Regions from separate parts of the Homo sapiens genome. Here region 2 is linked to region 1. The links are contacts of gene promoters, found by promoter capture Hi-C in blood cells and fetal thymus (Javierre and others, 2016). All regions are on one chromosome and are shown on one strand. The core of a region is centred on a gene start or on the middle of the fragment in contact, and the rest is flanking DNA. Distances in the headings are between cores, read along the strand shown. Region 1 holds the start of YPEL4 (yippee like 4). Region 2 overlaps ZDHHC5 (zDHHC palmitoyltransferase 5).

Region 1 (6,936 bases), core at 3,718-6,217:
AGGACACAACATTTAAAGCATCTGTGCTTGACTACACTCTCTTCTCTCACTTTTTTTTTTTTTTTTTTTTTTTTTAGATGGAGTCTTACTCTGTCTCCCAGACTGGATTGCAGTGGTGCGATCTCAGCTCACTGCAACCTCCATCTCCCGGGTTCAAGCGGTTCTCCTGCCTCAGCCTCCCGAGTAGCTGGGATTACAGGTTTCCACTGCCACACCCAGCTAATTTTTCTATTTTTAGCAGAGACAGGGTTTCACCATGTTGGTCAGGCTGGTCTCGAACTCCTAACCTCAGGTGATCCACCTGCCTCGGTCTCCCAAAATGTCGGGATTACAGGCGTGAGCCACGGCGCCCAGCTCTTTTCTCAGTTTTAATCTTTCACCAAGCACTCCTGCCATCTCCACCCCACCTCCAAACAATACCGTCATCATATGTTCTTTTTCTCCTCTCCAGCTAGATCCTTGATCATTTTCTTTTTGCTTCCAAACTTTCTTTCTTTCTTTCTTTCTCTCTCTCTCTTTCTTTCTTTTTCTTGAGACATAGTTTCGTTCTTGTTGCCCAGGCTGGAGTGAAGTGGCGCAATCTCGGCTCACTGCAGCCTGCGCCTTCCGGGTTCAAGCAATTCTCCCGCCTCAGCCTCCCAAGTAGCTGAGATTACAGGCGCCCGCTGCCATGCCCAGCTAATTTTTGTATGTTTAGTAGAGAAGGAGTTTTGTCATGTTAGCCAGGATGGTCTTGAACCCCTGACCTCAGGGTCATCTGCCCGCCTCAGCCTCCCAAAGTGCTGGGATTACAGGTGTCCGGCCTGCTTCCAAACTTTGAATCCGAGCTGGGCCCAGTGACTCACGCCTGTAATCCCAGCACCTTGGGAGGCCAGGGTGGGTGGATCACTTGAGATCAGGAGTTCGAGACCGGCATGACCAACATGGTGAAATCCCGTCTCTACGAAAAATACAAAAATTAGCCAGGCATGGTGGCACATGCCTGTAATCCCAGCTACTCAGGAAGCTGAGGTGGGAGAATCACTTGAACCCGGGAGCCGGAGGTTGCAGTGATTCTCGATCATGGCATTGCACTCCAGCCTGGGAAACAGAGCGAGATTCCATTTCAAAGAACAAACAAACAAACAAACAAAACAAAAGAACTTTCGATCCATGCCTTGAAAACTAATCATTTGCCTTTTCCCACTTCTCATTGTTCTCCTCAACAATTGCTTTTCAAAATCTTTTTTTTTCTTTTTTTTTTAAATTTTATTATTATTATACTTTAAGTTTTAGGGTACATGTGGTGCACAACGTGCAGGTTTGTTACATATGTATACATGTGCCATATTGGTGTACTGCACCCATTAACTCGTCATTTAGCATTAGGTATATCTCCTAATGCTATCCCTCTCCCCTCCCCCCACCCCTCAACAGGCCCCAGTGCGTGATGTTCCCCTTCCTGTGTCCATGTGTTCTACTTTTATCTCCCCTCTCTTCTGCTGCCCAAACAAAAGCACTTCTCTCTTCTTTCTTTACCTAGCTTTTTCTCTCAATTCCAAATCTCTAGTACTATCCCTCAAGACACCCACATTGTCTTTTCAGAATTTACTTTAAACCCCAGAATCTTCCCTGATTAAATATTTAGAATCCCTTTTTATTTTCATGCTCAACTAGCAATGTCTCCCATTACCCACATTTCTCTGCCTTAACTTTTTTTTCCCTCTTTACGTGTGAGAAGAAAAACAAACCACCCCCAAGCACTGCTTTCTAGAAGTCCCTATCTTTGTCGTACTTCATTTGCTAAATGCTAGACTCTGTTAGAAATCAGGGTTTTTGTCTTAGGGGATATGTTCTGTGTTCACATACTTTAGTAACATGCACAGGACAGCACCCCATGAGAAATGAATTCTGAGTCAAATGAAATTTAACTGGAAGCTGCTAGAAAAATAGCAACAAAAGATGTAATGTCTTCATAAGACAAAAATTTGGCATGTGTCTCTTGAGATATCAGAATTTAATAATAAATCCTCCCTGGGTTTTGGGGGTCATACATTGAGAATGCTGTTTTGGTTTCACTTTTGTTTTTTTGGTTTTGTTTTTTTTTTTGAGACGGAGTCTCTCTTTGTTGCCCAGGCTAGAGTGCAGTGGTCCCATCTTGGCTCACTGCAACCTCCGCCTCCTGGGTTCAAGCGATTCTTCTGCCTCAGCCTCCCAAGTAGCTGTGATTACAGGCATACGCCATCACACCTGGCTAATTTTTTGTATTTTTAGTAGAGAGGGGGGTTTCACCACGTTGTCCAGGCTGGTCTCGAACTCCCAACCTCAGGTGATTCGCCTACCTCGGCCTCCCAAAGTGCTGGGATTACAAGGTGTGAGCCACCTCACCCAGCCAAGAATGCTTTTTTTTTTTTTGAAACAGAGTCTCGCTCTGTCACCAGGCTGGCGCGATCGGCTCACTGCAACCTCTGTGAGTACAGTGGCGCCATCTCAGCTTACCGCAACCTCTGACTTCCTGTTCAAGCGATTCTCCTGCCTCAGGCTCTCGAGTAGCTGGGATTACAGGCACGTGCCACCATGTCCAGCTAATTTTTGTTATTTATTAGGGATGGGGATTTCACCATGTTGGCCAGGATGGTCTCGATCTCCTGACCTTGTGATCTGCCTGCCTCGGCCTCCCAAAGTGCTGGGATTACAGGCGTGAACCACCGCACCTGGCGAGAATGTTGTTTTGAAATGACACTACTGTTTACTGCCTATCATGTGCCAGGCATTTTTCAGGCATTTAAATGTTATCTCACTTTATTCTGCATCTCCATGAGCTAATAATAATAAATATTATTAGCTTCATTTAGCAGAAGAGTAAGACTAAGGCACAAAGATTATCAGTAATTTGCCTAGTGGTTCCTGCCAAGTAATTGGCAGAGCTAAGAGTCTAATTCAGTCTCTTTGAGACCAAAGCCAGACACTTGGTTCATGTCTGAAGATGCAACTCAACTGCTCTATTAATCAGAGTTCTCTAGCGGGATAGAACTAATAGGATAGATGTATATATAAATCAGAGTTATTACGGAATATTGACTCAGATGATCACCAGATGAGGTCCCACAGTAGGCTGCCTGCAAGCTGAGGGGCAAGGAAGCCAGTCCGAATCCCAAAGTTGAAGACCTTGGAGTTCAATATTCGAGGGCAGGAAGCGTCCAGCATGGGAGAAAGACGTAGGCTCAGAGGCTAAACCAGTCTGGTCTTTCCACGTTCTTCTGTCTGCTTTTATTCTGGCCTAGCTGACAGTTGATTACATTGTGCCCATCCAGATTGAGGTGGGTCTGCCTTTCCTAGTCCATTGACTCAAATGTTAATCGCCTTTGGCAATACCCTCACAGACACACCCAGGAACAATACTTTGCATCTTTCAATCCAATCTAGTTGACAATATTAACCATCACCAGTCCACCCCTTGTCAACTTGAACCCATACACGTCTCCTGAAATCATACATGATCTTCAAATAAAGACAATAATAAGGTCATAATTACGCTTAACATAATACAGCTATCCTTTGTACAACCGGAAACGCACCAATCCCCAACCCAAATGCTATTACATAGAGTTAACAACACTTAAGTGCTGATATCAAGTCAGTAAGTCTTATGTCACATGATAAAGGCAAAAGAAAGGAAATAAAATGAAGATATTTTCTTAATACAAGTGTATATATGCACAAACATGTTCCTAACAAAAGGAGGAGGAAATACTCATGACAATTACAGTCCTCATTTTCTGCAGCTGGTCACATGGTCATAGTTCGTATTGATGACTACCTTCTTTGACTACCCATTCTGAATTCCGTTTGCCTTCAGCAAGCACCTCAGCAGATTATGTTTTTTTTACCTGGTGGAGTGACCCAAACCTTCATTCCTGAAGGGTCTGGGCCATTTGTCATCCTGCCTGGATTGGGCTGTTGCAGTTTCCCATTGACCTTAATCACAGGGCATGGTAATATTAAGAGACGCCCTACGTGATCTCCTGTATTCCACGCATACTTCCTTACCGCCATTGTGGAGTAGTAGACTGATTTCATCTTGATAGTCTGGGTCAAACACTGTAACTCCCTTCTTAGCAAGTTGGCTTAAAAGTAAGAAGAGCCCAAAGTGGCCAGGTGGCAATCTTAACTTCCAGTTTAATGGAATCATTGTTGTGTCTCTTGGTGGCAGCATTCCTCCCTCTGGAACTAAGACCTCTAGGCCAGCAGAACATAATGCCGCGGAAACAACTGCTATTTTGGAAACATCTAAATGCACGGGTCTGCACTGGACATTGCAGTCCTGGGATGTAGAGAGTAATTTCCCAGAAGGCCTGTCTCAGGAAGTTTACAGCCCAATAGAGAACTTCATATAACGTAGGTGTCTCCATTCATGAAGCACGCATAATATGGAGGTAGCTGTTAAGGGGTTCCTGCATGCAAAATGTCACATTGGGTCTATTACTCCTTCAGGAGTATTAAACCAAGGCTTTGAGGCTTGGTACAAGTTTGGGGGCACAGTTTGCCATCCATGACAATTAGTACATCTGTCTTTTCCCTGCTTCAGGGCTGGTGTCCAAGCTGAAATGGGAAAGTGTATCATCTTAAATGTGTGTGTGCTCCCTCACTCTGCATCCATCTCTTCCTTCACCAGCCTTGCCACCTCCTTTCCTCCAGCCCTGCCACCCTCACTGCATCCTTGCCCAGCCCTGTCCTTCCCCCAGGTTCTTCGTATCTCCTTGGCCCCACTGCCTTCCTCCTTAACAACCTGCCTCTCCCCTTGCCCACCATCGCCGCCTTGTCCCTCGGCCCCCACTCCTCTAGCCCCGTCCCTTGATGCCTACCCCCTCCCTTCCTTCCGACCCGCCTCCTGTGTCTCCCAGCCCTGCTCTGACGTGGGAGGTGAGGGGGGGTGGGGGGGATGGATGACTCACAGTGTTATGATGCAGTTCCACAACACACAGCCACATTCACCCACAGACCGAGGTACAGAACGAGAGACAACCTCTGCCCCCCCAGCAGCTGGCCAGCTTTGCAGCCCCAGTCTTGAGCCCCCAACTACCCTCCCCCCACCCACCCCCATCCCCTTCCCAATTGAAGGAGCGGAAAGAGAAGAGAGAAGAGTGAGCAGAGAGATTGAGAGATTGAGAGAGAGAGAGAGAGATAGACGGAGATCTCTGGAGCAGACCTCAAGGTGAGGGGGCAGCCCTTCTCCAAATGAATTTTTTTCTCTTTGCAAATTTCCTCCTCCTGCTGCGTGTTGCTTTCTCCCCTTTGCAAAAGCATTATTCATCCACCCTTTGTCCTCCCTTCCCCCTCCCCGCTGCCTCCGCTCCTCTCTCTCGGTTCCTCCATCCCTCTCCAAGCTCTGACGATTCCCGCACTTATTTCCCGGCAACTTTGGCTGCAGCATCAGGCATCACTGTTTATTGTTTTGCTGCTGGTGCAGACCCCCAAAGCCTGCCCTGGGAGCTGGCGGTGCTGCTAATTATTTGGACCATACCATACTGAGAATACCAGCCTGGGGGGTGCCAAAACCTCAGAGCAGATGAGAAAATCCATTGTGAGCAGGTGTCCCCCCCCTTTTCTTTTCCCCCCTGAGAAGCACGAGATTCGCACCTGGTTCCTCCAGCCTCCGCCTCGGCGCCTCTGCTGTCAGCTGTCAGTTGCCCCCGCCAGCCCTCCCTCTCCCCTTTCTCCTACGGTCCAGCCCCGTCTCACTTCAGGGGAACATCTCTCCCCAGCACTCGGCTTGCCTTTGTTTTTTCTCCAGTCATTTGCCCAACTTGCTTCTCCCTGTGATCCGAGATGGGTGAAAAAATGACCCCTACTCCCCTTTGTGATTCTCTGGCCTTCTGTGCAGCCTTTCCTTGGCTTGACTGGGAATTAGGGGAGAGGGAGGGAGGCGTGACGGCCGGAGGCTGGAGAAGGAGCTCAGGATTGGGGACCCAAGCTGCCCCATTCTCCATGCCCCTTGAAGAAGGTGTTTCAAGGTGGTGCATGTCAGAGGGGAACTCGCTGGCAAAGTTGAAGGCAAACCTGTGAAGCAGAGACTGAAAGGTGGTCTCTTGGCAAGGAGGGCCCGTTTCCTGCAGCCGGAGCCCAATGTCACCCTGAACTCAGCCCAAGGTGTCTTCCTGGGACCCAGCCCGGAGGAGAGGACCTGAAACTGAAGATAGTCTCTATGGAGGTTTTGCGGAGAGACTGCCTGGCGGCCTTCAGAGAGAGTGGAACAGCTGGGTGCCTGTGGCCACTGCGGAGGACAGGACGAGGAGAGCCTGTATGCCCTGGCTAACCAGAGCCAACACTGCCTCTTCTCTGCTTAGTGCTCTAGCATTGCCAGAGTGCCCAGCTGGCATCTCTGAACCAGACTTAGGCTAACCACCCACAGTGGGCTGGGAAGCCCTATGAAGGAGAAAGCAGCAGCTCACCTGCTTATCGGAGCCAACAGGGGCCACCTCCCTTCTTATCCTCTGCCTCCAGCACCTTCAGCCACTCGGAGGCTGGCGCGTGGGCAGAAGGCAATCTTCCTCTATTCCTAATCAGAACCCAGCAATTACTTCATCTTCAGTCACCCACAGAGTCACTGCTGTTTGTCCCTGCCCCTGGGAGAAGGTAGAAAGAAACATTTTCTGCCTTGTGCCCCAAAGCACAGCTGTTAAAAATAAGAGTCCCCCTTCTGCTGTTCGTTGTGGCCGTTGCTCTCACCCTACCACACAGCCCTGCCCAGCCCAGGAATCAGGCTCCTCTGACATGCTACCCATTTCCCATTGGCTCCAGCTGTCAGATTGCCTGAAGAAAATGTATTTTCTGCCTAAGTCTTTAACCAAGGGCTAAGGCAACAGTTAGTAAAGACTAGGAGAGAGAAAGACCAAGGGGCCCACAGGCTGGGAAGACAGGCAGGTGCTTATTCTGGGCCAGAATGAGTGAACCAAG
Region 2 (6,936 bases), core at 3,008-5,507, 40 kb before region 1:
CTCACACCTATAATCCTAGCATTTTGGGAGGCTGAGGGGGTTGGATCACTTCAGGTCAGGAGTTTGAGACCAGCCTAGCCAACATAGGAAAACCCTGCCTCTACTGAAAATAAAAAAATTAGCCAGGCGTGGTGGCGCATGCCTGTAGTCCCAGCTACCCAGGTGGCTGAGGCACGAGAATCGCTTGAACCTGGGAGGCAGAGGTTGCAGTGAGCTGAGATCATACCACTGGAGTCCAGCCTAGGTAACAGAGCAAGACTCCCTCTCAAAAAAAAAAATCTAATGTAGAAAACAAGATTTGTATTTAAGTAATTTTAACCCAAATTAGTAAGTGATAAACACTGTAAGAAATATGGGCCAGGCGTGGTGGCTCATGCTTGTAATCCTAGCACTTTGGGAGGCCGAGGTGGGCAGATCACCTGAGGTCAGAAGTTCGAGACCAGCCTGGCCAACATGGCAAAACCCCATCTCTACTAAAAATACAAAAATTAGCCAGGCAAGGTGACGGACACCTGTAATCCCAGCTACTCGGGAGGCTGAGGCAGGAGAATTGCTTGAACCTGGGAGGCAGAGTTTGCACTGAGCACCACTGCACTCCAGCCTGGGCAACAGAGCAAGACTCTGTCTCAAAAAAAAAAAAAAAAACACAAAGGAAACTAAAGCAAGCTTCCGTCTCTTTGCCTTGGGTGAGACTTCCATGTTATCTAGCTTGACTTCTCTAAATTCCTCACCTTTGTTCTCCTCAGCTCTCCCTGGATGCCATTATCCATGATCTTCACAGTTATCTGCCCATCTGAAACTTCTGGTCGAAGGAAGGGAGGTCTGATTACAATTGTCTTCTCTTTCTTTGGTCTCCCCAAATACCTAAGTGTCGAGAGAGAGAGAGAGAGAGACACAGCGAGAGAGCTTTCATTCATTTATATTTTAAAGTATCTACTGTTTCTGTAAACCATTTTTATTAGGTTGGTAAAAAAGTAATTGCAGTTTTGGCCATCACTTACTTAGCAATAAACAGAATTGATTCTGTGAAGGACTGCAGCAGGACTAGGCCTTTGTGAGCAGATACCTAGCTCAAGGAAAGCACTTTAGAGTGTATCTTATTCACCCTCAATTCTCAAAGATTTACCTTAATACCTGAAGAATATCAATGGAATTCACAGTGTCCACTAAAGCAGGGGTCCCCAACCCCTGGGCCGCAGACCAGTACCGGTTCATGGCCTGTTAGGAACTGGGCCACATAGCAGGAGGTAAGCAGTGGGCCAGTGAGCATTATCACCTGAGCTCCATCTCCTGTCAGATCAGCGGAGGCATTAGATTCTCTTAGGAGCGCAAACCCTAGAACCCTGTTGTAAACTACACATGCAAGCAATCTAGGTTGTATGTGTGCTCTGAGCTCACTGCAACCTCTGCCTCCTGGGTTCAGGCAATTATCCTGCCTCAGCCTCCCAAGTAGCTGGGATTACAGGTGCCTGCCACCTTGCCCAGCTAATTTTTGTATTTTGAGTAGAGAAGGGGTTTCACCATATTGGCCAGGCTGGACTTGAACTTCTGACCTCAAGTGATTCGCCCACCTCGGCCTCCCAAAGTGCTGGGTGTGAGCCGCCACACCCAGCCATGAGAATCTAATGCCTCATGATCTGAGGTGGAACAGTTTCATCCTGAAACCACCCCACCCCAGCCCCCATCTGTGGAAAAAGTGTCTCCCATGAAACCGGTCCCTGCTGCCAAAAAGGTTAGGGACCACTGCACTAAAGGATGGGCATGTAGGTACTTACCATTCTAAGATAGACTACTTACCATTCTAAGATAGAGTGGGTACTTAACATTCTAAGATAGAGAACCCTTCCTAAAGGCTCTCACCAGACCCCTCCTTTACCAGAACAAGCCCAAAGAAGATAAAAGTTCTGACCAATGGTAAACACTAGACCAGAGGGATAGGTGTACCTGGGTGCTGGAGAACTGCAGAGAACACGGCTGACATTGTTACAGCAGCCATTGGTGAAGGGGTTCACACCTCCCCGGAATTTACCCGTAACCTAGAGGGAGAAAAAAAATACCAGGTTAGAAGATGAGACCTTGACTTCCAAAGGCCAAAATACAAATCTATTACAAGTTATTGTGCACTCACTATCTGAGGGCTATGCAAATGAGTAAAACACAAGAAATTTATATATGTTATGGTTAAGAGCAGGGAATCTACAGTCAGGGTCCTTAGTTCAAATCCTAGGTCTACCTCATGGTTGCTGACCCAAAACCTCAGTTTCCTCATGTAAAATGGGATAGCTTTCTAAATATTGAAAACTAAGATAAAGAATAAGCAATTAAGGGCTGGGCATGGCAGCTCACACCTGTAATCCCAGCACTTTGGGAGGCTGAGGCAGGTGGATCACCTGAGGTCCGGAATTTGAGACCAAACTGGCCAACATGGCAAAACCCCATCTCTACTATAAAAATATATAAAAACTAGCCGGGCATGGTGTCAGGCACCTGCAATCCCAGCTACTTGGGTAGCTGAGGCAGGAGAATTGCTTGAAGCCAGGAGGCAAAGGTTGCAGTGAGCCGAGATCGTGCCACTGCGCCCCAGCCAGTGGGCTCCAGCCAGTGGGCTCCAGCCTGGGTGACAAAGCGATACTCTGTCTCAAAAAAGAAAAAAAAAAAGCAATTAAGGTTAGCTACTATTATATGCACAAAAATCATTGCTTTCCTGTAAGCAGCACTATAAGCTTCTTGAGGGCTAGCCTAAGTCTTTCATTGTTTCTATAAACTCAGAGCCTAAATTCTCCAGTATCCAGTGGGCATATAGTAAATGTCTGTTAACTAAGAAGTGGCCTCTATTCTTTTTTTTTTTTAGGAAGATCTTAAATATTTATATGTATATGAACATATATGTACATATACATATGTCTTGCTACACTTTAAATTTAAAAATCTATTAATATGATTTTTGACAAACTAAAGAAAGAATACTATTATTTGGATACCAAGTTCTATGGTGAGTATTGTTTAAAAAACTATCATCTTATTCTTTATGCTATATTGTCTAGTTTCAGTTTGGTTTGGGTCTCTCAATTGATATTTCAGGTGATGATGCCAAACCATCCAAGACTTTCTTTGGAGATAGATATTATTTTGTTATAAAATATATTTTTAGGCTGGGCGCAGTGGCTCATGCCTGTAATCCCTGCACTTTGGGAGGCCGAGGTGGGCGGATCACGAGGTCAAGAGATCGAGACCATCCTGGCTAACATGGTGAAACCCCGTGTCTACTAAAATTACAATAAATAAATAAATAAATAAAAGATATTTTAGCACTTTGGGAGGCTGAGGTGGGTGGATCACCTGAGGTCGGGAGTTCGAGACCAGCCTGGCCAACATGGTGAAACCCTGTCTCTACTAAAAATACAAAAATTAGTTGGGCGTGGTGATGCACATCTGTAATCTCAGCTACTTGGGAGCCTGAGGCAGGAGAATCGCTTGAACCCAGGAGGCAGAGGTTGCAGTGAGCCAAGATCACGCCACTGGATGCCAGCCTGGGCGACAGATCAAGACTCTGTCTCAAAAAAATAAAAAATAAAAAAAGATATTTTAGGGCAAAATTCAGCCTTTATCTCTATTGTCTTAGTATCTCTTTGAGAGTATCTTTATTATTATTATACTTACAGCTCTAGGGTACATATGCACAACATGCAGGTTTGTTACATATGTATACATGTGCCATGTTGGTGTGCTGCACCCATTAACTCGTCACTTACATTAGGTATATCTCCTAATGCTATCCCTCCCCGCTCCCCCTGCCCCACAACAGGCCCCAGGGTGTTATGTTCCCCACCCCGTGACCAAGTGTTCTCATTGTTCAGTTCCCACCTATGAGTGAGAACATGCGGTGTTTGGTTTTCTGTCCTTGCGACAGTTTGCGCAGAATGATGGTTTCCAGATTCATCCATGTCCCTACAAAGGACAAGAACTCATCCTTTTTTATGGCTGCATAGTATTCCATGGTGTATATGTGAGAAATGGCCTCTATTCTTACATGGCCTCTACACTTACATGAGGAACTAGGACTACCTCACTCCCTACCATTAATCTCTACATAATCATGAAAAGTATTCATTAAGCATCTCTTTGTGGAAGCACTACACTGCACACTAATCAGAAGGCTAAAGAGACATGACCTGCTCTTCAGGGGTCTCTCGTCACTTTTCTCCATACCTGTTCATTGGTTGTGCGTCCCCTGGCCACCAGAACCACGTGAAATCCCGTGAGGCCAGCTACAGGGATGAAGAATAAGCCAGCCACACACATTACTGCCATTCTGATGCCAAACAATCAAGGAGAACAGAGCAACATGACCTCACTTTCCCCGGCCCCTACTGCAGCCATTTTCCCTTTAGCCCTCATTCCTCCCCCTTCCAATCCCACAATCTAAAAGGCCTTGAAGGATACGTGACAGCCGTGCGGACCCCTGAGAGTTCCTCTATGTGGTAGAGGACATAAAGGAGGCCAAAGCCAAACACACCCATAATGTGGGCTGTCAGGGAAAGGAGGAAAAGGAAAAAATAACGGTAGTTCCGGCGACCAATACAGTTATTCACCCAGGGGCAGTGATGATCAAATTCCTAGGGACAAAGAGAGACAGATGAGAGGCATCCCTGGACCATAGCATTAAATTACTTCTGTCAAGAAGAGAAACAAATGGCAGCTAAGTTTTGATCATGGTCACCAATTAGTTCAAAATTAAATCCAGTTTATTTTGCTCTATAAATCTGCAAGGGAGACCTTCCAGAGGTTGGTCAAAGGCCAAGGCCAACCAGGCGTAGTGGTGCACACTTGTAGTCCCAGCTACTTGGGGGGCTGGGGCTTGAGCCCAGGAGTTCAAGGCTGTAGTGAACTATGATGACTGCCTGTGAATAGCCACTGTACTGGGCAACATAGCAAGACCCCATCTCTTAAAAAAAAAAAAAAAAAAAAATTGGCCGGGCGCGGTGGCTCACGCCTGTAATCCCAGCACTTTGAGAGGCCGAGGCGGGTAGATCACGAGGTCAGGAGTTCAAGACCAGCCTGACCAACATGGTGAAACCCCATCTCTACTAAAAATACAAAAATTAGCCGGGCGTGGTAGCGCGTGCCTGTAATCCCAGCTACTCAGGAGGCTGAGGCAGGAGAATCGGTTGAACCCGGGAGGCGGAGGATGCAGTGAGCCGAGATTGCGCCATTGCACTCCAGCCTGGGCAACAGAGCGAGACTCCGTCTCGATAAATAAATAAATATATATATATATAAAAAAGACCAAGGCCGGCTCTCAATGTTTATCCTATGTGACCAAGGAACTCTAAAAGTGACGAATGTCAGAGGTTTTGCAGAAACATCAAGATTCATAAGAAAAGAGGATTAGAAGGAAGATTTGGCAGGTAACTGCTTATAGCTAAGTGAAAATGGAATGGAAAAAGGACAAGGGATGCAGAAGGACAGGCAGGAAAACAACTACAACAAATTGAAACACAACAGCATGATTTTCTGGAAGAGAAAATGCAAAGCCAGGATAAATAACCAAAACTGAGCCAATAGATAGAAGGCTAGAACTATAAATCTTGGTGTCAAGAAAGCCTACACCCTGCTAGTGCAATGGCTCATGCCTGTAATCCCAGCACTCAGCACTCTGGGAGGCCAGGGCATGAGGATCACTTGAAGCCAGGAATTTGAGATAGTCCAAGCAACACAGTGAGACCTCATCACTACAAAAAGTAAAAATAAATAAAAAAGAAAGCCTATGCCCATATTGAGTTAAAGCTTCCCTCCTGCAATAATATTTATGCTCTGCCTCTCATGCCATGTCATTATTAACACCATTTGACAGAGCTGGACCATGTGGCCAACGTAGTTAGACAGGACTATACCACATCCAAAGCTAAGAATCTATTATATGGTTAGGATGAAGACAATGAAGGTTAAGCATGAAGTCTTACCCCACCCAGGGTGCTTACCTCCACACAGTTGTCACAGACACTGCAGTGGGAACATCGAGGGGGACGGTAAAAGCGGCAGGTGGCACACCATTTCATGCGCACCTGGATGCCCTTTATCTCCACTGTTTTGTAAAGGGGAGCTCGGAAATCATCTTCCTTGTCCTCATCCTCCTCAGCTGTAGAGAGGAAAAGTCAATTAAAAACAACTATGCCAGAACTGTAGTAAGTGCTAGGGATTCAATGATGTTTAAAATATAGCTTCTGCCTTTGAGGAATTCACAGTCTAATGAGTGAGACTAGGAACTAGGAACTATAAGACTGTGAGGTCAGGTCTTTATACAACACTATGGGAACATGGATGAGGGAGCAATTTATTCTGCATTGGGAAGTGAGGTTCGAGATAAAATGACTCAAGAGGTAGCTCTTGTATGCATCTGCTGGTGTTATTTGGTTTAAGTATATGAATATATTTTAAAGAAATAGTTTACATATCAAAGCACATACATAATGAGTTTGCATAAGAGTTCAGTATCTACATTTATATGAGTGAACTATAGCAATCCAAGAGAGGAACTAACATCAACCTTTTTTTCCAGGCACGAATCCTTTGCCCAGCCAACCATGGTGGCTCACGCCTGTAATCCCAACACTTTGGGAGGCCGAGAAGGGCGGATTGCCTGAGCTCAGGAGTTCAAAACCAGCACGGCCAACATGGTGAAACCTCGTCTCTACTAAAAACACAAAAATTAGCCTGGTGTGGTGGCATGCACCTGTAGTCCCAGCTACTCAGGAGGCTAAGGCAAGAGAATCGCTTGAACCCGGGAAGTGGAGGTTGCAGTGAGCTGAGATCACGCCACTGCACTCAAGCCTGGGCAACACAGCAAGACTTCATCTTCATCTTAAAAAAAAAAAAAAAAAAAAAAAAAACTTTCCCAAAATGTCTTCCCCTACTCTATGAATTTTCTCTACATAT

Evidence for each region. Contacts are between HindIII fragments. The CHiCAGO score rates a contact against its expected background, and 5 or more counts as called.
Region 2: a fragment that was not itself captured here is called in contact with the fragment with the promoter of YPEL4 in region 1 in 1 of 17 cell types (neutrophils); the score reaches 5.3 in neutrophils.

Annotation. Positions count from the first base shown.
Region 1 is chr11:57,647,943-57,654,878 of GRCh38, reverse strand. YPEL4 (yippee like 4) reads left to right here and starts at 4,967. Exons shown (of 5, transcript NM_145008.3): 1 at 4,967-5,194. MIR130AHG (MIR130A host gene) reads right to left here. Exons shown (of 2, transcript NR_186232.1): 2 at 1,978-4,581. RefSeq lists an enhancer at 6,456-6,595. The HindIII fragment of the contact is 14,007 bases long and covers 1-6,936 here.
Region 2 is chr11:57,687,711-57,694,646 of GRCh38, reverse strand. It overlaps ZDHHC5 (zDHHC palmitoyltransferase 5), which reads right to left. Exons shown (of 12, transcript NM_015457.3): 4 at 5,982-6,139; 5 at 4,444-4,616; 6 at 4,210-4,312; 7 at 1,945-2,036; 8 at 732-864. Among named protein-coding and RNA genes, the nearest start is that of MED19, 21 kb to the left of the region's middle. The HindIII fragment of the contact is 3,064 bases long and covers 2,726-5,789 here.